Regions from separate parts of the Homo sapiens genome. Here all the other regions are linked to region 3. Evidence: promoter capture Hi-C in human tissues and cell types (Jung and others, 2019). All regions are on one chromosome and are shown on one strand. Each heading gives the region's core, a stretch centred on a gene start or on the middle of the fragment in contact. The rest is flanking DNA. Distances are from core to core; before and after follow the strand shown.

Region 1 (3,855 bases), core at 1-2,500, 370 kb before region 3:
CCAGGTGGAAGGGGACGCGAACGAATTCCCAAGGCTGTCTCAGGGTGCCCGCGCACCGGGAAATGGGGAACCCTACGAGGGGGCAGGAATGACTCAGGCTCCCGAAAGCAGGAGTAGGCAGTGAGGGGGTGCGTGTGTACTTCTCTCGGGCCTGGTTATGAATGTGTGTCTGGGGTTGGCGTATGGGGGGAGTGTGCGTCTGTGAATGAGTGTAGGTGTGTCAGTCAATGAGTGCCTTCGGGGTCGCAGGGGCGTCGGGACGGAGTGGGGCAGCGACCAGGAGGCTGGTGTGTGCACGCGTGCGTGAGCGCGTGGGCAGGGTGGCACGTCCGGGCCGCGTGTCACGTGAGACGCGAGGGGACTGTCCGAGGTGTGTGCGCGCGCTGGAGCGTTATGTGCACCCCGGAGAGGGGGCTCGGCAGGGAGCTGTGAGTTCAGACAGCGGGGCCCCCAGGTCGGGCTGCAGGAGCTTGGGGTGCAAAGGGCTCCGGCGCAGGCTCCAATTCAATCCACCCCCCCCCCTCCGCCACCCACAGGCCCATCTAAGTGCCAGGGAAACGCGAGTGACTGGGTCTGAGTAAGGAGTGTGTGCGCGCGTTTGTAGGGCCGGCCCCACCTTTAACCCTCTCCTTCCCACGCCATCCCCTCCCCCCAGCTCCGCGCGCCAGCGCTTACCACACCCCCCCAGACCCCCGCCCGCCCCTCTGCGCCCACCCCGCTGGCGGGGCTCTGTCCCCGAGGCCGCACCACAAATGCCTCCTTCCTCCGCATTCCTCTCTGGGCCCAGCGCCCGGGTGAGCGCAATGGAAGGCGGCTGGGGAAGGGGTGAGTGCCTCTGTCGGCCCGGGCCCCTCCTGCGGCCCCTTTAAGAGCCGCCCTTTAAACCCCTTTCGCTCGGCCGACAGAAATTGTCGCCCCTCCCCTCTCGGGGGCCGAGACCACGCAGCCCCCTCCCCCACAACCGGCCGAGCCCTGGGCCCCCGGACACCCTCTCGGGGCCGGGGAAGGGGCTCCGGGAGTGGCGCGGCCTGAGGAACGGCGGCGGAGGGGGACGCGAGGGGATGAGGGCGGCCGACACCGGACCCCTTCCCTCCCAGCCATCCCGTGCGGCTGCCAGCCGCCCTCCTGCCGCCTCCTCCTGCCCACCCCGCGACCCCTGGGGCCCAGCCCGGGCGCCGCTCCCCTCCCCCAGCCCTAGCCCCAGCCGGGGACTCACAGCTGCTGCCGGTTCCTGCTTGTAATCGCAGCTTACCCCCTCCGCCTGCTCCCTCCCCAAACGGGCACCAGTGCCCCCACCCCCCTGGTACCGCGCTCTGCTCCTCGCCCTGTCGCCGCCGCCGGGTCTCTCCCCACCCCCCACCCCTCCCCCCAACCCCCTCCCTCCCGTCCGCCCCGCTCCTCCTCCGCCGCCGCCGCCTCCTCCGCCTCCTCCTCCCCGGCTGCTCCGGGTTTCTCCAGCTGGGAAGGCGCCCCGGACCCCGCCGCTGCCACCACCACGTGGCGAGAGGCGGCGGCCCCTACGGTGCGGCCCTTCCTGGCAGCGCGCCCGGAGCCCACCGGCTCCCTGCGGCGCCAGCGGCCCGCGCTGGCGCCCCCTCCCCGACGCCTCCCGGCGCAGTGTGGCGTGGTGGCGTGTGTTGGGGGCGTCTGCGGTCAGTGCAGGGGCCCGGCTGATGCTTTGGTTGTTTTGGTTGTTTAGTTATGGGCTGTATATTTGGGGAGGAAGTGGGGCTATTTATCTGGCTTTTTTTTTTTTTTTTTGGTCTTTGCGCTTTTGAGAAGGAAATCATTAGACCTGCTCTTCGTTGCTCTTGGTAAAAGGGGCATTGCTGCGATAAATACATTGAACATAGGGTACAGAGAGATTAAAGCTGTAACTTCTTTGGAAGTGAGAGTAAACTAAGGAGGTCAAAGATTCATTCATGAAGAAGGACAGCCATCTCCCTCCCCACACACCACTCCCCGGCCACCCTCAAGTACCCACAGGTCAGGGAAATGAAGAAACAACAGATGTCACCCTGTGCACAAAGATTATTTGAGCACCTGCCAAACTGCTGGGCAAGAGAAACAAGTTTTTTGCTACTTTCCTGCTGTGTGACCTTGGGCAAGTTACCTTAACCTTTCTAAGCTGGAGATCATGCCCCACCTAAGCACTCTCATGGAGGAAGAATGGGGATCAGAACTAAATACAGCAGCCTGCGAATGCTCAGGAAGTGTTAACGATGTCATTTTGAGTATTGCCTGGTGGATTAAATAATGTGGACAGAGGCATGGTCAGCCTAGCTGCAGGTAGAGAATGATCAGGGGAACCCTGGAGCACTCTGGCTGAAGAGCATCCTCTGTGGACAGGGAGGCAAAGCCCGGAAGCAGGGGATAAGCTGGGCGGGGGCTTTTGGCAGATTCAGCCTTAGCTGCGAAGACTGCTGGGAACCTGAGCCTACCTTTTTGGCTCCTGAGGTGGGATGGGGGTGGGAATCTCCGAGGGGGAGGATGGAAGGAAAAGGTTTCTTGCTCTCTCTGAGCTTTGAAAAGCAGCAGCTGCCATCTTTCCTCACTGCTGGGAGAAAATTGGACTGAGAGGTGAGCTTCTACCAGGAGAGCCAGCCAGAGCTCTAGACTCATTCTCTTCATAGAAGGGGGGATTCTCAGTGGCTTCCTTCCTCCTCCTCCTGCTGGGTTCCCTTTCAGTCTTTCCTGCCAGCACTGGCTCCCGTTTGTAGTCCAGAACAGGAAGGCAGGTCAGCCACTTGTTCTCTGAGGCACTAGCTTTCTCTGAACCATGTGGGATGACCTATCTACCCTCTAGATATGAAGGCAAACCAGTGGGGACATCTGTCACCCCACTAATCCCAAGGGCTAGGCAGATGTTCCTTTCCCTAGTACTCCCCAAGATCTCTTCTGAAGCAAGGGACCAGGCAAAAGATTGGAGGCTAGACTAGGAGGTGTAGGGTTGTCTCTGGGACCCTCGGTGACCTTGGACTTGGCCACAAACAGGACCCATAAGACCAACTGGCAAGCCCTCCCTCACTGGAAAAAGGGGTCCCAGGACCCTCTAAGCACACACTGTCTGGGATGAGTCATCAGCCCCCTGCTGCTGCTTGGATGCTCAGGGCCTAATTGAGTCACCTGGCAGGGTGCAGCCAAATGCTTCTATCCTTGGTTCTAGGTGGTTGGTGGCAAAAGTCCATTAGGCCTGGTTTAGGTGCCCTAAAATCCTCCCCCTCCCCCAATCTGGACCTGATCTCATTGCATTCTCCATTTCTAGTTCTGCTGCTCATACCAGGCAGTTCTGAGAGCAGAGATTATATCCCATCCATCCTTGTATTCTAAGGTGCCCTGAGGGTTGGTACCTGCTCGTTGTATATTTATTCGGCAAAGATTTCTTGAACATCTATTATGTGCTGGGTGCTGAGAATACAGTGCTGAACATGTCTCTGACAGGTATACATGTCTCTTGCTCTCTTAGAGCTTGCAGTATGGTAGAGAAGTCAGAAAAATAAAAAGATGAATAAGTAAAACCACTAGAAATTGTGATAAAGGACCAGGCACAGTGGCTCATGCCTGTAATCCCAGCACTTTGTGGGGCTGAGGCAGGCAGATCACCTGAGGTCAGGACTTTGAGACCAGCCTGACCAACATGGTGAAACCCGTCTCTACTAAACATGCAAAAATTAGCCAGGCATGACGGTGGGTCCCTGTAATCCCAGCTACTCGGGAGGCTGAGGCAGAAGAATTGCTTGAACCCAGGAGGTAGAGGTTGCAGTGAACCGAGGTGACCCCATTGCACTCCAGCCTGGGTGACAAGAGCGAAACTCCGTCTCAAAAAAAAGAAAGAAGGAAAGAAGGAAGGAAGGA
Region 2 (3,548 bases), core at 20-2,519, 350 kb before region 3:
TGAAGACTGCAGTGAGCTGTGATCGCTCCACTGCACTCCAGCTTGGGTGAGAGTGAGACTGTCTCCAAAAAATAAAAATAAAATAAAATAAATTTAAAAGGCTGGGCACAGTGGCTCAAGCCTGTAATCCCAGCACTTTGGGAGACCAAGGCGGGTGGATCAATTGAGATCAGGAGTTCAAGACCAGCCTGACCAACAAGGTGAAAGCTTGCCTCTACTAAAAATATAAAAATTAGCCAGGCATAGTGGCAGATGTGTATAGTTCCAGCTACTCAGGAGGCTGAGGCAGGAGAACTGCTTGAACCTGGGAGGTGGAGGTTGCAGTGAGCCGAGATTGCACGACTGCACTCCAGCCTGGGCAACAGAGTGAGACTCCGTCTCAAAACAAAAAAAAGAAAGAAGAAGCAGAGCAAAAACAGTAGTCTACAGTTTTCCCCAAGCCACTCTCTTCATTAGGGCACTGCTCCCCCTTCTCCCAGCCTTTTAAGCAACAGGCACTAGGTTCACAAGCGAGCTACAGAATGACAGACATAGCCCACTTGGCTAAGTGCACATTGGCGAGCGGACGAAGGGAACTGGGTTGTATACTCAACGGTGTACGTTCTCCTGATCCCCCTTTAATCCCTGGACGATTCCAGTATAGGCTTCCAAGCAGCTTTCCCTTAGCTCATTCAGATAATCCACCATGTCATAGTCTGACTGTAAGACACAAAGAACAGAACCTACATCACACTGATCACTTTTAGCTGCATGTTTGTCAATAGTCCCTCCAATTAGAGCTAGACTTAAAGAACAGCCAAGATAGCTTTAAGCTTACCTTGTCCACCTGGGCTTGGGAGGCCTGCTGAAGAGTATTCAATACAACCTCTAAGTATTTTTTAAACTCTCCTCCAATAGCAAGGGCAATATCACCAAACACTGACAGAATCTGCGGCTTCACAGACCTGTGGACGTTCTCATTCTGACAAGGAACAAAAGGAAAAGTGAATTAAGTCAAAACTTGTTTGGTCCAAAGATTCATGAAAATTTCATTTCTAACAAGCAACTATTGATTTTAAATATTTGGATGGTCCTTTATAGCTTACAAAACCTTTCCCATTTGCACCTCACACCAACTCTAAGAAGCTAGCCCAGGTATTGGTATTCCCACTTTACACATGAGGAGACTGACTTAAGAATCAAGTGACTTGTCTGAGAACACACATGTACAATAATTAATGATGGCTATCTCTGGAGAGAGGTATAATATACAAATGGTCCCCTGCTCATGATGGTTTGATGATTTCTCCACTTTACAATGTGTTTATTGGGACCTAACTCCATCATAAGTCAAGGAACAACTGTATTTACTTTTCCTTTGCATTTTACTGTTTTGTTTTAAAAATCTCTAATAGAGCACACATTCCTTTAACTTTACAATCTTTCTTCAGAGTCATCTGTGAAATGAACAACTCCCCTCTTTATAAGCCCAAAGCCAATGTTCTAGAAACTTACAGCTCCCTGTCACTGATTTTTTTTTTTTTTTTTTTTTTTTGAGACGGAGTTTGGCTCTTCTTGCCCAGGCTGGAGTGCAATGGCGTGATCTTGGCTCACTGCAACGTCCACCTCCCGGGTACAAGCGATTATCCTGCCTCAGCCTTCCGAGTAGCTGGGATTACAAGCGCCTGCCATCACGCCCGGCTAATTTTTTTTGTATCTACAGTACAGACGGGGTTTCACCATGTTGTCCAGGTTGGTCTCGAACTCCTGGCCTGCCTCGGCCTCCCAAAATGCTGGGATTACAGGCCACTGCGCCCAGCCTGGTCGATATTTAACTATCTTTCCAACTGTTGTTTTCTTCAAAGAAGACTGGTTAATTAGATTGTGTGTAGATACTCACCCCCAAATTTTCCAGAAGCAGCTGCATCACCTCGTCACAGAAAGGTATGATGTTGGATTGCAGGGCACGGCACAAGTCTCCCACTAAGCCCACAGCTGCCAAACAAACCTGCCAAGAATCAAGGAAATAATCTTCTAACAGAAAAGGCTGCCTGCTGGGGCAAGATATTATTTTTAACTAGCTGCTGAGCTTTTATCACTTGAACCTAGAGTTAAATCCCTCTGCCGAGATTAATTTTTCAACAACCAACATGGCAGGCAGGGAACAAAGACTATCCGAGAGAGATCACTGATAAAGTTAAAAAAAAAAAAAAAAAAAAAGCCTTGCTCTCCAGGGTGCTAATAGCTCAACTTTATAGCTGCTCCTGCATTAGTACTGTCTAAGCAAATAAACAGTCATCTTGTCCACCATTATCTGTTACATCTAATATCTTGTCCACCGTTATCTGGTACATCTAATATCCTGTTTTTCATGGACTACTTCCAGTTCAAACGTTCAGGCAATGAATAAAGTAGCTTGCCTTTTAGGACAATGTATCAGGAAAAACTACTTAAGCTATAAGAACCTGGTTTTGCGTGCACTACAGTGACTGTCAGATATAAATGGGAACATACTATTTTGAAAAGCACATCCTACCTGGTATTCAGCATAATTTTTTAATCCAATGCCCAGGAAGGGTTTAAAGGCCTCCATGTACTTGAGGAATTCACCACCCAACACTGTAATGAAATAAGCTATTAGCCAATGACAGCACCACGGGTTAACACAGAGGCAGGCAGAAATAACCCATCCTACCTCTCCCAAAATGTACTCGCTCCACTCAACAGGTTGGGTGAAATGTGCTTTAGTTACCGATTCCATCATGAAGACATTAAAGGCTTGCATAAGCCAAATTTATTACTGCTGGAAGGGCCCTAATTCATACGCCACAGAGACAATGCCCACTGTCCACAGAATAGGGCTTTACTCTGACTAATACAACCAAGTGGTATGACCCTCAAGGAATGTCAAGGTTAATTTTAAATGGGCTGAACCAGCAATACTGACTCTTGTCCACCTCCTCATCTGATAATAGCATGTCCTTTCTGCAAGCCAGCTTCAAAACAGGGTCCTTAGGCAATTCCATCAAGGGCTAAACAAGCCACAGCCAGGAAAAGCAGCACTGGGCTTCAGATCCAAATCAGCCACTCCAGGAGCCAAAATTAACTTCTTTGCCCTTTCAGAGGAGTGGTCACATGTTGACAGACCAGTTGGACATAGGCTGTTTATGCCAAAAATAGGTCTAGTCCTCAGGAGAGTGGTCCTCAGGTAAATGGCCTTAGCAATGTACTTACAGGCCACCCCTGAAAAGGCATATCAGATTCCTAAAGTGCTTCGTAATGCCCCTTCAAAGAGTCTTAAGTCAGATATGGCTTCCCCAAACCAATTTTGCAGTCAGACATGTAAAAATCAGAAAATCAATTCCTAGAACTCGCTCAATGTTTCATTTCATCCCATACCAGGCACCATGATGTGTCAATCTTAGTCCAAAGCACTACAAACCAAACCAGGTGATGACAAGTACCAGGAAAGAAAATAGAAACTTTTAGCAGGGCACAGTGGCTCATGCCTATAATCCCAGCTACTCAGAAGGCTGAGGCAGGAGAATTGCTTGAACCTGGGAGGTGGA
Region 3 (3,521 bases), core at 974-3,473:
AATATAATTTTTCTCAACTATTTCAATCCTGTCTTCTATCGGTGAACTTGCAGGAACAAATCAAGAGAAATGGAGGGAGTCGTATCCCTTTTCTCCAGTCATCTATCCATTCACCTTTCTATCCATGAATTCAACGTATATGTCTGCATGCTTAGTGTGCACTAGGTTCTCTCCTAGGCTCTAGGGATATACCAATGAACAAAATATATATATGCTATATATATATATATATATATATATATATATATATATATTTTGTTTATATATATATAAAATCTGCCCTCATGAAGCTTATGTTCTAGTCAGGGAGTGAAATAATAAAATAGAAAAATAAAACATATTGTATGTTATCTGCAATAAGTACAAAAAAAAAAGTAAAGCAGGGAGGGGAATATGAAATGTAGTATAGGGGAAGAGATGCAGGGAACAGAATGGGTGGCCAAGGAAGACCTTACTGAGAGGGAGACTTTTGAGTACAGACCTGCAAGAACTGAAGTAGGGAGCTGATTAATATCTTAGGGAAGAGCATTTCAGCCAGAAAGAAAAGTAAGTACAAAAGCCCCGAGGCAAGAAGAATGTTCAAGGAATAGTGGGAAGGCCCCAGGAGGCTGAAGCAGGAGAGATCAGAGAGGCTAAGTGAAAGTGGCATATCATGGAGGACCCCTAGATGACAGTAAGAACTGTGGCTTGTACTCTGAAGGAGTGACAAGCATTGAAAGAGTTCTGAGGAGAAGGATTACATAATCTGAAGTTCTTTCTGAAAGGATCACTCTGGTTACTGTGAGGAGGGAAATCAGGTAGGTCTGGGTTCCTGAATGCCAAGTGAAGAAAGTACTTCAAGAGTGAGCAATCAGGCTGTGCATGGTGGCTTATGCAGGTAATCCCAACACTTTGATGCGGGGGTGGGGGTCTAAGCAGGAGGGCTGCTTAAGGCCAGGAGTTCAAGACCAGCCTGGGCAACAGTGAAACTCCCACCTCTACAGAATTTTTTTTTTAATCAGCTGGACATGGCGACCTTAGTCCCAGCTACTCCAAAGACTGAGCCAGGAGGATCTTTTGAGCCCAGGAGTTTGAAGCTGCAGTGGGCTATGATTGCACCACTGCACTCCAGCCTGGACGACAGAGACCTTGTCTCAAAAAAAAAAAAGGGGGGTGGGGTGGGCGGTTAAGATCAGTACTGAATGGTTCGCTAGGTTTCACAACACGGAGGACACTGACAAACTTGAAAGGAGCCATCTGGGTGGGGTGGTAAGGAGACAATGTCGTCAGAGTGAGTACAAGAGAGAACGGGGTAAAGAAATTGAACCCAGCCAGTAGGGTAGGCTCTTTCAAGGAGTTACGTTGTTAAGAGAAATAAGGCAGTAGCTGAGAGGAAAATGGGGCTGTGAGGCTTTAAGATGAGAAAAACAAAGGCGTCTTCACTGAAGCATGACTCTGTATGACATCCTTTCACAAAATACCTTCCTCTTTCCTCTCATGCCACATTTCCCTCACAAGCCGCCCGACTCGCTCGCTTTTCTCTCGCCAGAGGGACTGAAAACGTCATTAATACCAACTGCATACACAACTCCATTGCAGCTACTGCCATTCATGAACGTTCAAACTTTCGTCACCCTGTTTTCATATTTGTGTAACAAACGTCGAGTGAACGAACCTCCACCTCTTCCAAGAACCCACGCTGAGGAGGCTTCCCATAGACCCTGCTCTTACGAAGCCAACGACTTCTACAGGAAGAAAGAGGACCTGTAAGCTAGCGAGTGAACGACCCGCAAGATGGAAATGAGTGTGCTAATAGAGGTCTCCGCCTCCCGCTGAAGGAGCAGGGAAGTGACACCACCCCCGGGACCGCCAGCCTTCTACAACAACCACCATTTCTGAGGAACCACCTGATCAGTCTCAGTCACCCTTCAATCTGCCCCTTTGTCCCACTCAGTCCCCTCACTGTTCCTTTCTGGAACCTTCCTTCACCCAGCCCCACCACTGTTCTCCTTCCTCCCTCGCACCCTACTGCATTCTCCACCCTCCACCTCGAAGGCTCCCCTCCCAACTCCTCAGCGGGTCTCGCCTCCCCTCCCCACCTCTGTCCCCCAAGGGTCCCACTACCGGCCCGAGCTGCCCTCCCTTCCTCTCGGCTGGAGGCCCCCGCGCTCTCTGTGGTCAGCCCCTGCCGCCCCTCGGGCGGCGCTGCTCTAGCTCTGCAGCCTTCCCAGGATCCCGCGCCGCGCGGCCCCGCCCCCGCGGTCACCTGACCGAGCCCGACGCTCCGCCCACCGACCACCCCGAGCGGAGCGGGCCCAGGACCCTATCGGCTGTCGAGCCGGTGCTGCCGCGGCCACCGCCACCGCCCAGGGGCTCCGGGGCTGTGGGGAGCGGCTGAACTCAATACCGCCTCCGCGCTGACTGGAAGGCACTGCGGCCGCGCCTGCCTGCCCCACCTCGTAAGGGCCTGTGACCTCACGAGGCCAGCCGCCGGGCGCTGCATTCGAGCGGTGGGGCTCCTGTCCGTGCGCTTTCCTCCCGCAGCCCCGGCCGGGATTCCGCCCTCCGTCCTTGCCACCCGCTCGCCACTCTTCCCTAATCGCTGTTCATTCTCCGGTGCGCTGTCCCGCCATGGTCTGACCCCACTTCAATCTTACCTTCGGTCCGTCCTTTGAACACCCCGACCCCCGACCCCTTTCTTCCAAAACATTCCATCCTTCTTGGCTTCTGCTACTCAATAATGGACAGCAGCTCGAAGGCCATGTGTCCCACGGCTTTGCTGAAATTTGTCTCGGGTTGCCTTTAAGGAGACTGTCGTTTCCTTTTGAAAGAGATACTTTGGTTGGTTTGGTTTTCTTCTGTGTGTTTGTTTTTCCTATGTATTTATCGTATGCAGTTGGGCAAAATACTTAACGCTCCCTGAGTCTCGATTTTCTCATTCTTCCAGGGTTGTGGGAATTCAAAAATATATACGTAGTGCTCAATAAATGTTACAATATTTAATCCCTTCCGTGATACTACTGTGTTCATTTACATCTTAAACCTTGCTTTGTAGGCATTCTTTAATATTTTATTTAGATTTTTATTATTATTAAATATATGTACAAATCATAATTGTAAATATTTAATGGGGTACAATGTTATATTTTAATATATGTATACAATATGGAACGACTAAGTCAAGCTTAACATATCCATCACCTTGTTTAACGTTTTTTATGGTGAGACATTTGAAATTTACTCTTAGCAGTTTTGAGATATACGATATATTATTATTAGCTATAGTCACCACACTATGCAATAGATCTCAGAAACTTGCTGCTTTTGTCTGACTGAACCTTGTACCCTTTGAACAGCATCTCCCCATCCTGCATCTCCTACCCGCCCCGTCCCTTTCCAGCCTCTAACAACTATTCTACTGTCTACTTCTATGAGTTTGACTTTTTAAGATTCCACATATAAGTGAGATCATGTGGTATGTGTCTTTCTGTGCCTGGCTTTTTTCACTTAGTATGTCCTCCAAGTTGATTCATGTTGTCACA

Evidence for each region. Contacts are between HindIII fragments. The study calls those that stand out against the background at their distance.
Region 1: the fragment with the promoter of TBKBP1 here is called in contact with the fragment with the promoter of EFCAB13 in region 3 in 1 of the 25 tissues and cell types used here (IMR-90 fibroblasts).
Region 2: a fragment that was not itself captured here is called in contact with the fragment with the promoter of EFCAB13 in region 3 in 1 of the 25 tissues and cell types used here (lymphoblastoid cells).

The regions. Positions count from the first base shown.
Region 1 is chr17:47,691,556-47,695,410 of GRCh38, reverse strand. It overlaps TBKBP1 (TBK1 binding protein 1), which reads right to left and starts at 1,250. Exons shown (of 10, transcript NM_001394755.1): 1 at 1,217-1,250. RefSeq lists enhancers at 1-134, 135-814, 815-1,495 and silencers at 592-651, 902-1,031. The HindIII fragment of the contact is 16,798 bases long and covers 1-3,855 here.
Region 2 is chr17:47,675,459-47,679,006 of GRCh38, reverse strand. KPNB1 (karyopherin subunit beta 1) reads right to left here. Exons shown (of 22, transcript NM_002265.6): 16 at 2,516-2,598; 17 at 1,880-1,987; 18 at 818-961; 19 at 594-699. Among named protein-coding and RNA genes, the nearest start is that of TBKBP1, 17 kb to the left of the region's middle. The HindIII fragment of the contact is 3,989 bases long and covers 1-3,263 here.
Region 3 is chr17:47,322,657-47,326,177 of GRCh38, reverse strand. It overlaps EFCAB13 (EF-hand calcium binding domain 13), which reads right to left and starts at 2,223. Exons shown (of 25, transcript NM_152347.5): 1 at 2,104-2,223; 2 at 1,655-1,724. It overlaps EFCAB13-DT (EFCAB13 divergent transcript), which reads left to right and starts at 2,277. Exons shown (of 3, transcript NR_110880.1): 1 at 2,277-2,489. RefSeq lists enhancers at 1,435-1,614, 1,655-1,744 and a silencer at 2,085-2,494. The HindIII fragment of the contact is 8,264 bases long and covers 1-3,521 here.